Regions from separate parts of the Homo sapiens genome. Here all the other regions are linked to region 3. The links are contacts of gene promoters, found by promoter capture Hi-C in blood cells and fetal thymus (Javierre and others, 2016). All regions are on one chromosome and are shown on one strand. The core of a region is centred on a gene start or on the middle of the fragment in contact, and the rest is flanking DNA. Distances in the headings are between cores, read along the strand shown. Region 1 overlaps PKHD1L1 (PKHD1 like 1). Region 2 overlaps EBAG9 (estrogen receptor binding site associated antigen 9). Region 3 holds the start of PKHD1L1 (PKHD1 like 1). Region 4 overlaps EBAG9 (estrogen receptor binding site associated antigen 9).

Region 1 (2,700 bases), core at 200-2,699, 170 kb after region 3:
GAGACAGAGAGGGAGGGGGAGAGAGAGATAGATAGAGAGAGAGAGAAAGCATGAGGTTGCTAGCAATATGGAGGCCTTAAGCCTTGTTCAGGAGGGCTACCTAGAAGAGCAGTGGAAGAAAACTGGGAGAGGACCACTGAAGGCCTAGGGGCTACAGAAAAAATTCAAATGAACAGCTGGAATGGAAATAGTCACAATTTTAAGGGAATTGCAGGTAAGAGGTCCCTGACAAGGTAGTCTTCAAAGTATACATGAAAGCCCCTTCATGAGGAACATTTGCCATGTCCAGAGAGCATTGATACTTCATTGTACAGCACCAGGTAACAGAGCACTTTTATACTCCCCTCAGTTCCAACCCTGGTGGGGTGAAAAACCTCTGTTCCTGGGATAGGGAGGGGGAAAGAGACCCAACATGGGCCATTTCACGCTGAGACTTAAAAATCAGTCTTCCTAAGGCAAATCTAGTTTACTGTTCATTCCGTGATACTTCCTTTCTGTTGGAAAACTAAATTCCAAAAACTGCAATTCCAGCATCTATGGAACAAATTCCTACATTTGGGTTCTGGAAGAGATACAAAAATATTCTTCACACCAGAACATTGTAAAAGCCATAAAATTGTCCACCATCTGTATTCTTTTCTTACCTAAAGGTTTAATTCAGCCCACTGGAGTTTTTTGTCAAGATTTTTTCTGTCAGTTTTTAATAAGGAAATTTTCTAATACAAGTTATATGGCAGTAAAAGGAATTTCTAAAAATTGCTTCTTAGCCACACAGACTTTGTTAAAAAGTTCCTGTTTTAACTGCTTTAGGCTTCTGGCTGTCTGCTTTTTAAGAACATTCTAGAATTATCATAATAATTCCTTATTCCAGATAAATTACAATTTAATTACTACTTTTAAAAATGCTTGAATTATTGGAATCCATGGGCAATACATCTTCACATGTCCCTTATTCATATGCTAAGCAAGTTTTATTTTTGCTTTTTTTTTGCATTTAAATAATATTTCTCTGAACATTCTGTCTCAGAAATTGATGTTTAAATTCTTAAAAATAATTTGTATTGTAAGAAGTGGCTATCTAGCTCTTGAACAAGTCATAAAAATCCTTTGATGTGTGAATATTCTTCTACCTAAGACCTGAAATGTTGGCGAAGTAAATATGTTGTTCCAATTTTGGTCAAAGTAAGAAACAGAGAATAAAAAGTTAATAAGAATAGCTTCTTGTATTTCTCATAGTAAGTGAAATGTTTATATCTTGTACTACTGTCTCTACTCATTCCTAAATTCCATCACCTTGTGATCATTGCAATGACTTCTAGATGGTCCATCTGTTTTTACCTTTTATCCATTTTATCCCCAAAAGTGCTATTTAAAATATCCCTAGCACTAATAATAACAATAATCAATAATAAAGTAAAGGTTTATCACATGTTCACTACATGCCAGACACTATGCTGTGTGTTCTACATGGACCCTTTCCTTACAGCAATCCTATGAGGATAACCTTATTCCCTTCTCCAAATGAGGAAACTTGAAATGTTGAAGGGTTAGGTTAAATTCCCAAGTTCACAGAGCTACTAATGGTAAAGCTGGGATTCAAACACAGACAATTTAACTCCAGAGCCCAAATTCCAACATTTAATTGCTTCCCACTTTTCCTCAAGCATGGGCAAGTGCTTCATTGGGAAGAGTTTTTAATCCAAATTCCTGTTCAAATTCTTGGTTTCTACTTTACCACTTCTATGCCCTCAGGCAAGTTCTTAGTTTCCATTATTCTCAGTTTCTTCAACTGTAAAATGTGGAAAGTGTGACATCTGAAGACTGATGGTATCATATATATGACATGTAACACAGTGCCTAACAGGCGGTAAAATGATAGCCACTCTTGTTTTTATTTCCATAATGTGGCCTATATCATGTCAATCCCTGGCCCAGTAAACCATTAGGCTTCTTATTACACTGGAACAGTGCCTGGCATGTAATAAGCACCATGTGAGTGCTAATTATTAGAATTATTGGCTGGGCACTGGGCCACCTAGAACAAAGACAATTTCCCAGCTTCACTTGCAGTGAGACTGATCAATTTCTGTGCAGTGGGTTACAAAAACAGACATTATCTCGTGGCATATTCTAGAAACTGACCTTAAAACATAGCTATTATGCATCCCTTTGCCTTTTCTTCATCCCTTTCTGTTTTTCCAGCTACATGGAGCAAGATGGCTCCTGAGACCTGGAGGATAAAGGCCAGTGCCTTTTATTGCTCCATAACTTGTGTTAGAAAATCTCCTTACTAAAAATCTACAGAAAAATCTTGACAAAAAAAAAATTCCAGTGGATTGAATTAAAACTTTAGGTAAGAAAAGACTAAGATGGTGGACAATTTTATGGCTTTTACAATGTCCTTGTGTGAAGAATATTTTTATACCTCTTCCAGAACCCAGAGAGCTCAGCTGAAAGGAGTTTGGGTTCCTGACATTGTGGTGCCCTATACCAGCCCTTGCTCCTTTAGGGTTTCATTGTTATTTGGTGGTTATCCTAAATCTCCTGCTTTCATCAGATGTCTGAGATGGCAAAATTTGGAAGGATCAAGAGAACAGAGAGTTAATCCTTCCTAATGGGAAAGGTGGACAATGCCAAGGTTAAAATACCACATGCATCTTTGAGTTACTACTATACCCTCCCGAATGGAAATGCTTCAAC
Region 2 (2,700 bases), core at 149-2,648, 200 kb after region 3:
CTATCATTTTGGAATTTTTAAGGATTTTTACTTTCTTAAGTTACTGCCTAGAATCAACATTCGGTGAGATTTTGAAATGTCATAGATACTGTACAGGCCAAACCTTACTAATTTATTTTACTTAAAGTGATATTTTATAGAAAAATCATAAGTTATACAATGAGAACCCTTTAAGCCCTTAGCCTAAGCTTTCAGACTAAATGTGATTATAGAATAAGATGAAAGTTAACTTTGGTACAGAGCTTTTTATAGCCCCAAATTATATTTCCAGTTATTATATTCATTAGAATTTCTGCTAATAAACTCCCAACTTAAATAGAATTGGGCTCAAAGTTTTAATAATGTATTCTCTTCCTTCTTTGTATTTATAGTTAGTTATTATGGGAATACAACATATCTTCTCTAAATTTGGAATTCATAAAGGATAACTTCCTTTAGCTCAATTACTTGTATTGCTTTTCCCTAGTAGCTGAAAAGTATTTAAGTTTGGTTTGGTCATGATTTTCATGTGTTTGAGGTTTTTGTTGTTGTTGTTTGGCTTTTTGGTTTTTGATTATTTAAAAATAAAGACATTAGCAATTATAGTTAGTATGATTAGGAAGAAATAGATTTTTCTTGTGGAAAGAATAGATAACAATTCTGGAATTTATTTTATCTCTATTGATGTGTAAACTAAATTCCTGTATTAACTTGGGTATATTTTGGTCCCAAAAGTAGTCACTGAGTTAAATGCATATGACAAACAATTCATGGTAGCATACTGTCTCTTTTAGCTACTAAATTTATGGTTTCTATTTTTTGTTTTCTTGATTTCAATAAAGAATTGTCAGTTTTAGATGCTTATTAGAAATAATAAGAAATACTGGTAGGCATAGATAGAATTAGTGAAGTTTTAACCATTAGCAAAATCGTGCATTTCATGTACTGAGATAACAAGTAATCAAAGACATGGGAAACTTACCTTGTGTTTTTTTTTGTTTTGTTTTGTTTTTTATGTAGTAATTTCATGGTTTCTAGCCATTTCCTCTTCTTAAGCTTTACCTAGGGATATTCTCTACTTGGCTCTTCTTTTAGTATAGCATGTTTAATTGAGTTGACATTTTAGAACTGAAAATTTGAAATTCTGCATCCGAATTTCTCAGTTTTGACATGCACTTGCCTCTGGGTGATTATTTCTAGGTTGTTTCTACATGAAGATTGGTGATTGGGCAGAAGGTACCTACAGAAACCAGCATCTGGATCGAGCTTCCAACACCACTCTACAAGCTACCACCATGGCGTAAACCTAACCATAGTCAGTGTTCCAAAAAGCCTGAATTTTGTTGAGAATGGTATGTTTACTAAAGGATGGTTTGAGCCAGACAGAGCTAACATACTCATCTTGTTTGATCCTATGAAGTTCAGATTTGGAATAACCAACGATGGTTTTCATACTCCTTAAACCCCTTGCTCAAAGGAAATCTTCAGGCATGTAAGCAAACATGACAGGGTTCCGAATGGATCCCTGCTGGGAGGTTGGGAGTGGGCTAGAGCCTACAGATTGTTCCAGGGAAGGAGCTAATACCCTCTCAGGTGAACTGGAGGGCTGAAGAAGATAGTGGGTTCATGAAGAGCATATTTAGTAGCTAATAACTTAAACTTGTTTTTGTCATTTGCATAGTTTTTTTTTTAAATTTGAACTGCTCTGTCCTAATACAATACGAAGAGATTTATTTTTTTCTTTGTGTAATTCCTTTCACTTTTCTTTAACCAAAACTATCCCAAGCTTACAGCAACAGCTAGGTACTCTTTTTATACTCAACTGTTTTTTGTTTTTTTTACATTGCCTTCTGCTTTTTATCTTCCATCCCTCTTGGTCATGACCATTGGGCATACTCAATAACCAGAGTAGGTTTTGAGAGCTAGTAAAATGCTTTTTCACCAGACACCTTCGATCTTCTATAGCTTGAAAGAAACACTCTATTCTAGGGACCTCCTTGACCATCTTTTACCTTCAACAACAGATTTGTTTCTATCCTTTCATACCTCCTGCTGACACTGCTAGTTCACCAGTGGAAACTTTTGCAGAGAAGCTCACTGAAAGTCTGCGGCCAGTCCAAGATAATCCCAGCCTTCCCTTTCAGGGGACTTCTTTTCAGGGGATCTTTCTGTAGATGCTTTCCTTATATACATTGATCAGATCACCCCGGCTCTGAGAGGTTCCCAGAGTTCTCAGAGCTTCTGTAGAGGTAGTACAGCATTAAACAAATTGCCAGAGTTTGCAAATCTTTTAAATGGAAATGGTGGTTGTAAGGATTGAGACTGTACATAAGTGTTCAGTATAAGCACTCAATAATTGGAAGTTGGTATGAGGCCCTATATACTTCCCACATCTCACCATGCAGTGGTATTGGCAGCCCCTTCCCTGCAAAGAGTGGGAGAAGTTGCCTAATCTTGCAGTATTTTATACACCTTTAAATTGAACTTGAAATTTAGCAAGAAAGAAAACATTTATTGTAAGTCTGAGTCTTTGACTAATTATATCAGTGACTCTTAGCAATCCTGTAAGAGATACTACCCTTATTTCACATATAAGGAAACCAAGGCCTAGAAAATAAATTGTGTACTTGATTAATGGAATGGAAAATAGCAACCTTAGAGAGGAGGTTATAATAGTGGTTAATCAACAGTCTATGTAGACTATGATTTCTAAGGCCTCTC
Region 3 (2,700 bases), core at 58-2,557:
CCTCATCATGCAATTCCATCACTTGAAAACACTCTTTGACTAAAGTATGATACCACTATTATACCTAATAAAATGAACGCTTCTATAATATCTTTCAATACTTGTTACTTAATCCATATTCACTTTCCCTAATTTGTTCTGCAAACGTCCTTCATAGCTTTATATTATTATTATTATTTTTTACAAACCAGGATCCAATAGAAGCTTATGCATTGCTATTTGGGTAATAATCTTTTAATATCTTTTAAAAACACATAACATTTTAAAATGTAGAAACTGCAAACTAGGTAGGTGGATCTTCTCATCTTTTTTTGTTGTTTGTTTTTGAGACGGAGTCTCACTATGTCGCCCAGGTTGGAGTGCAGGGGTGTGATCTCAGCTCACTGCAACCTCCGCCTCCCGGCTTCAAGCAATTCTCCTGCCTCAGCATCCCAAGTAGCTAGGATTACAAGGCATGCGCCACCCCACCAGGCTAATTTTTGTATTTTTAGTAGAGATGGTGTTTCACCATGTCAGCCAGTCTGGTCTCGAACTCTTGACCTCAAGCGATCCGCCCACCTCGGCCTCCCAAAGTGGTGGAATTACAGGCGTGAGCCGCTGTGCCCAGCCCCTTCTCACCTTTTAAAGAGTAGGGAGAGGTGGGCAATCAAGAGATCCTGAGGTTAAGATATTAAGAACAGTGAGAGGATTTGGAATTAGCCCCTGGGGAGCATTCAGTGGTGAATAATAAACTGCCTTCTCCAGGGAGGTCAGAGAAACTTGCGTTTCATTCGTCTGCTATCTGGCATCCCAGAAACAGGTCAGCAGTGCTGGACCTCCCTCCATGCCAACAGTAAGCCTTCGCCCTAAGTCTACTGATTGTCAATTAAAGAGAGAGCACAATCTCATATGAATGTGAAGGGGTAAACACGCGTGGGGTTTGTGTATTAGGTGGTCTTATAGGCCCACCTGGGGAGGATTAATGACCAAGGCAGACAGGCAGATGAAAGTACGCGGGGAAAGAGAGAAAAGAAAAGAAAAGAAAAAAAACAAAAAGAAAATAGAGAAGGAGACCTAGGGAGACCTCAATGACCATTGATTCCTTTCGCCAAAAGGAGTAAGGCCCTTCCACCTATGGGGACAGCCTTGGGAAGGCAGCACCCAGGTTTGAGTGTGGAGGTTTGATTATCACGGACTGGCTCGGGGCCGGCTTGGTTCTCCCGCGAAGGTTCCAGGGTGTGTGTGTGTGTGTGTGTCCGCGCGCGCATGCAAATCCCAGAGGAGCAGCCCGACAGCAGGGGCGGGGCAGGCCACGGGAGGGCGGCCCAGTTCCCCAGCTCTCCCGGGACGAAGCGGGCCCGCCAGCGAGTCGCAGTCCCAGGAGCCGAGCTCCAGCACTAGAGCCAGCTGCGAGCGGAGGGCACCAACTCCGCAGAACTGGCTTTTCAATGGGACACCTGTGGCTCCTGGGTATTTGGGGCCTCTGTGGGCTGCTCCTGTGTGCCGCGGATCCCAGCACAGGTAACCCTTTGGGCACGCTAGGCAGGCAAGCAGGAGAGGCCCGCGTAGACACTACCCCTGCTCCCGGGGTCCTGGGAGAGGCAGGACCACCTGGCACCTGGCTGAGGCTGTGGGTGCGGTTGCATGACGATCCTGGGGACCAGGGGAGCTGGATAGCAGGCCTAGCAAACAGAGACAGACGCAGAGAGAGAGAAACAGAGACAAGGACACAGAGAAAGAGATTGCGAGAGATTGCCTTTTAACTCATCAATGCTGCTACTTGAATGATGAAATCTCCCACCGGCACCCACAAAGTGACACAAGTAGACTGAAATTTGGCGGGGGAGTGGGGACTGGGAAGAGGCAACCTGAGTCCCTTTTCCTCCATTCTTCTTGGGTCGCTTTCCTCACAACAGAAAGGGCAACAACCCCCAGTAGGACGGGGATGGGACTTCGTGGCAGGTGTCAGTCATTTCCAGGGGCAGCTGCCCTGTGTTTTCAAAGTAATACCCAGAAGAGGGCTGGGAAGAGACTGATAAGATAAGAAATTGGAGTTGTCTGTGGAGATAACAGGAGGATGAACCTGAGATAGGCGAGGAGCAGCACTGTCTGGAGATAGGATCCAGCTTCCCCGCTGGAGTTTCCTACTCTTGGGCTGCCCTGAGATATGAATGTGCGGGAATAAGAACACCTTGGAGCTCTTGGCAAAGACAGACCCGAGGTACAGAGGCACTGGGTCTGGGGCCTCGGAACTGGTCTCCTTTATGTTGGAGAGCTTTTGCTACTATAGGTGAAGTCCACTCTAAACCTTTTTAAGACAGAACTGAACAAGCCAATCATAATTCCCTTAGCCTTTTTATATACATCCATTTTGAGAAATTAATAATTTCTGTGGCCTTTCTTTGTATCATCCCTTAAATTTTTCTACCTACTGTGAAAATTTCTTTTAGGATTCCAGCAATTACTAGATCTGTACAGTGTAAGCAGAAAATAAACACCTCTATCCACTGTGTAGCTTTGAGTTGTTTTAAAGAATTATTTGCAATACTCCAAAGAAGCAGCTCACACAATCCTGTTTGCCCGGGCAGTTCCCTCTATCTAGAACTATCTTTATCTTTCTGACAACTGGTCCAGTCTAATTCATATTTGTCCTTAAAAATGTGGAAGGGGCATGTCTTCTTTATAGAAGCCAGTGTGACACAAGCAGCGTGGGTGAAATGC
Region 4 (2,700 bases), core at 191-2,690, 190 kb after region 3:
AGGCTTTTTCTGTCTCTATTGAGATGTTTATATGGTTTTTTGTTTTTAGTTTGCTAATATAGTGAATGACATTTGATTTTTAAATGTTAAACCAATCCAACATTTCCAAACTAAGCACCAGTTTTTCACAATGTAGTATCCATTTATATATTGTTGGATTTAATTTACTAATATTTGGCTAAGGAGATTTGTGTCTAGATTCATAGAATATTAATAGTTTTCTTTTCTAGTAATATCTTTGGATTAGTATCAGTGTAATACTGGCCTCAAATAATGAGTTGGGGAAATATTCCTTCTTCAGTTTTTTGGCAGTTTGTATAGAATTGGTATTATTCCTTCCTAAGTGTTTTGTAGAATTTACCAGTGAAGCCATCTGTGTCTGGGAGATTTTTATAACTACAAATATAATTTCTTTAATAGATATATAGATTTTCAGGTTGTTCTTCTTATGCTTTAGTAATTTGTGTCTTTCAGGGAAGTTGTCCATTTCATCTCACTTGTCAAGTAAATACAGGCACAAAGGTGTTTGTAATAGTTCTTCAGTATCCTTTTAATATCTGCAGACTCTAACAATGTTATCTGTCTTGTTTATGATATTGGCAAAAGTCTGTTATTAAGGACACGTGTTTTAGATTGTTATGTACTTTTTATTAATTGACCCCTTTATCACTGTGAAATGACCACTTTTATACCTGGTAATGTTATTTTTCCTATAATCTGTCTAACATTGAAATAGTCACTTCACCTTTCTTTTGATTAGTGCTAGCATAGTATATTTTCTCCTATCCTTTTACTTTTAACCTATTTGTGTCTTTTTATTTAAAATGCATTTCTCATTGGCAACATGGAGTGGGGCGGTCTTTCTTTCTTATTCAATCTAACAATCTCTGCTTTTCAATTGGAATGCTATACAATTTGCATTTAATGAGATTATTGATATGGTTAGATTTACGTCTGTCATCTTATTTGTTTTTGGCTTGTCCCATGTGTTATTTGTTCTCTTTTCTTTGTTTCCTGCTGCCTTTTCAATTGAGTAGTTTTTATCTCCCTGCTTGTCTTATTGGTTATGACCAGTCCTTGCCCCTCAGAATATATGATTTAATGGACTTACTAGAGGTACTCCTAGGTATTGGCATTTCTTTAATAGATTCCCAGATTTGTGAACCACTGGACTAAATGAGCTCCATGGTAACTTTCAATTTACTAGCTATGTGACTTTGGTCAAGTTATTTGACCTCTCTTAATTCAATTTCCTCATCTATAAAATGGATATAAGGAAATATATTCATCTGCAAGTTAAAAATATTTAAAGTATTTTAAATAGTATTATGTTCATGTGGTTCAAACTTTAAAAGGTACACAGAGATTTAATATATTCTATTTTATACTTTTTTATTTTTTGAATTGTAGATTTTTGTATTAATAGATTTAGGTAAAATTATTTTCAAAAACTCAGAATGAAGGGTTTTATCCTTACAACCATTGAAAACTCGAAAACCTGGTTTTTGACTTGTTAATATGATTTAAATTATAATTTTAAAATTTACTGTGTTATAGTTTCTAGAGAAAGGTAAAAAATATCTTAGATTTTTCTTAGTGCATAATAGGTCTTTTCAGGACAGGAGTATGACTTTTGAAATCAATTTAATGCATTTTTTGTTTTGTGCCTCTTCCACAGGTTTTGATTCCCACCATGGCCATCACCCAGTTTCGGTTATTTAAATTTTGTACCTGCCTAGCAACAGTATTCTCATTCCTAAAGAGATTAATATGCAGGTAAATAAGTTTTATGTTCAAACTAACCTGTTTATCTCCTCGCTGGTTTTGGATACCTTCAAAACTTCAAATTTCGTGGACAGGACAGGTTATATTTAAGCTGAATATCTTGATTGCAGTATTTATTCATTAATTCCTAGTCATTTTTAGATACTTTTTCTCTACTTCAGATCTAGAAAATAGAGGTTCAGTTGTTTTGTTCATTCAAATTCTTACACTTTCCACTAAAATAACATGCTTAATACTATTTAGGAATAGACAGACCAACTTTCATTATTATAATCATCACAGAACTTTGATGTATTCGTTTCATTATGGGAATGTTTTAAAGTGGTTAGGTGAAATTCGGAATAGGTATTTCTGTCTATACTACAATAGTGTTGTTTTTATATTTAAAAAAAAATCCTAAGAAAAATCCTAAAAAAAAAAAATTTTTTTTTCTGTTTGAGTAACATTCTAGAATATGCAGGAAGTCAAGAGCAGGTAAGTCATTTGCTTTAGGACATCATCTGTAGACTTCAGTTCCTTCTGTTTTGTCACACGATCATACCCAAGAGCTATGATGTCTAAAATGTGTGCTGAGGCACCTCAGGGCTTTACATGAAATTCACAGGGATGCCATAGAATATTTTAAATTTTGCAGTGAAACATAGTGATAGCATCTGTTGAATACCTCAACTCAAAGTAGTTCACATTTGCAACATTAAATCCTGCAGTATTTTTTTATGATGGTGTTCTTTAATGTTTGAGATAAGTTTTTGTTTACTTATATTTTTGGTGACATCTCATTGCAAAGCCAGGATTTTAGGTTGTAATTAAAAGCGAGTACTGCACCAAAATTAATGTAGAACTGAAAACAAGAATGATGGTCTCCAGTCTTATTCTAAGGCATAAGAAGCTGTGCAGTGTTCAACAGGCACACAA

What was found. The method cuts DNA at HindIII sites, captures the fragments that hold promoters and counts their contacts. A CHiCAGO score of 5 or more calls a contact.
Region 1: a contact is called between a fragment that was not itself captured here and the fragment with the promoter of PKHD1L1 in region 3, in 1 of 17 cell types (megakaryocytes). The highest score is 6.3, in megakaryocytes.
Region 2: a fragment that was not itself captured here is called in contact with the fragment with the promoter of PKHD1L1 in region 3 in 1 of 17 cell types (megakaryocytes); the score reaches 5.5 in megakaryocytes.
Region 4: a contact is called between a fragment that was not itself captured here and the fragment with the promoter of PKHD1L1 in region 3, in 1 of 17 cell types (megakaryocytes). The highest score is 19.4, in megakaryocytes.

The regions. Positions count from the first base shown.
Region 1 is chr8:109,531,471-109,534,170 of GRCh38, forward strand. PKHD1L1 (PKHD1 like 1) reads left to right here. Exons shown (of 78, transcript NM_177531.6): 78 at 1-2,700. Among named protein-coding and RNA genes, the nearest start is that of EBAG9UORF, 6.9 kb to the right of the region's middle. The HindIII fragment of the contact is 8,383 bases long and covers 1-2,700 here.
Region 2 is chr8:109,565,676-109,568,375 of GRCh38, forward strand. EBAG9 (estrogen receptor binding site associated antigen 9) reads left to right here. Exons shown (of 7, transcript NM_004215.5): 7 at 1-321. Among named protein-coding and RNA genes, the nearest start is that of EBAG9, 27 kb to the left of the region's middle. The HindIII fragment of the contact is 730 bases long and covers 1,034-1,763 here.
Region 3 is chr8:109,361,154-109,363,853 of GRCh38, forward strand. It overlaps PKHD1L1 (PKHD1 like 1), which reads left to right and starts at 1,308. Exons shown (of 78, transcript NM_177531.6): 1 at 1,308-1,500. The coding sequence starts at 1,428. The HindIII fragment of the contact is 8,587 bases long and covers 203-2,700 here.
Region 4 is chr8:109,549,132-109,551,831 of GRCh38, forward strand. It overlaps EBAG9 (estrogen receptor binding site associated antigen 9), which reads left to right. Exons shown (of 7, transcript NM_004215.5): 2 at 1,679-1,776. The coding sequence starts at 1,694. Among named protein-coding and RNA genes, the nearest start is that of EBAG9, 10 kb to the left of the region's middle. The HindIII fragment of the contact is 4,370 bases long and covers 1-2,700 here.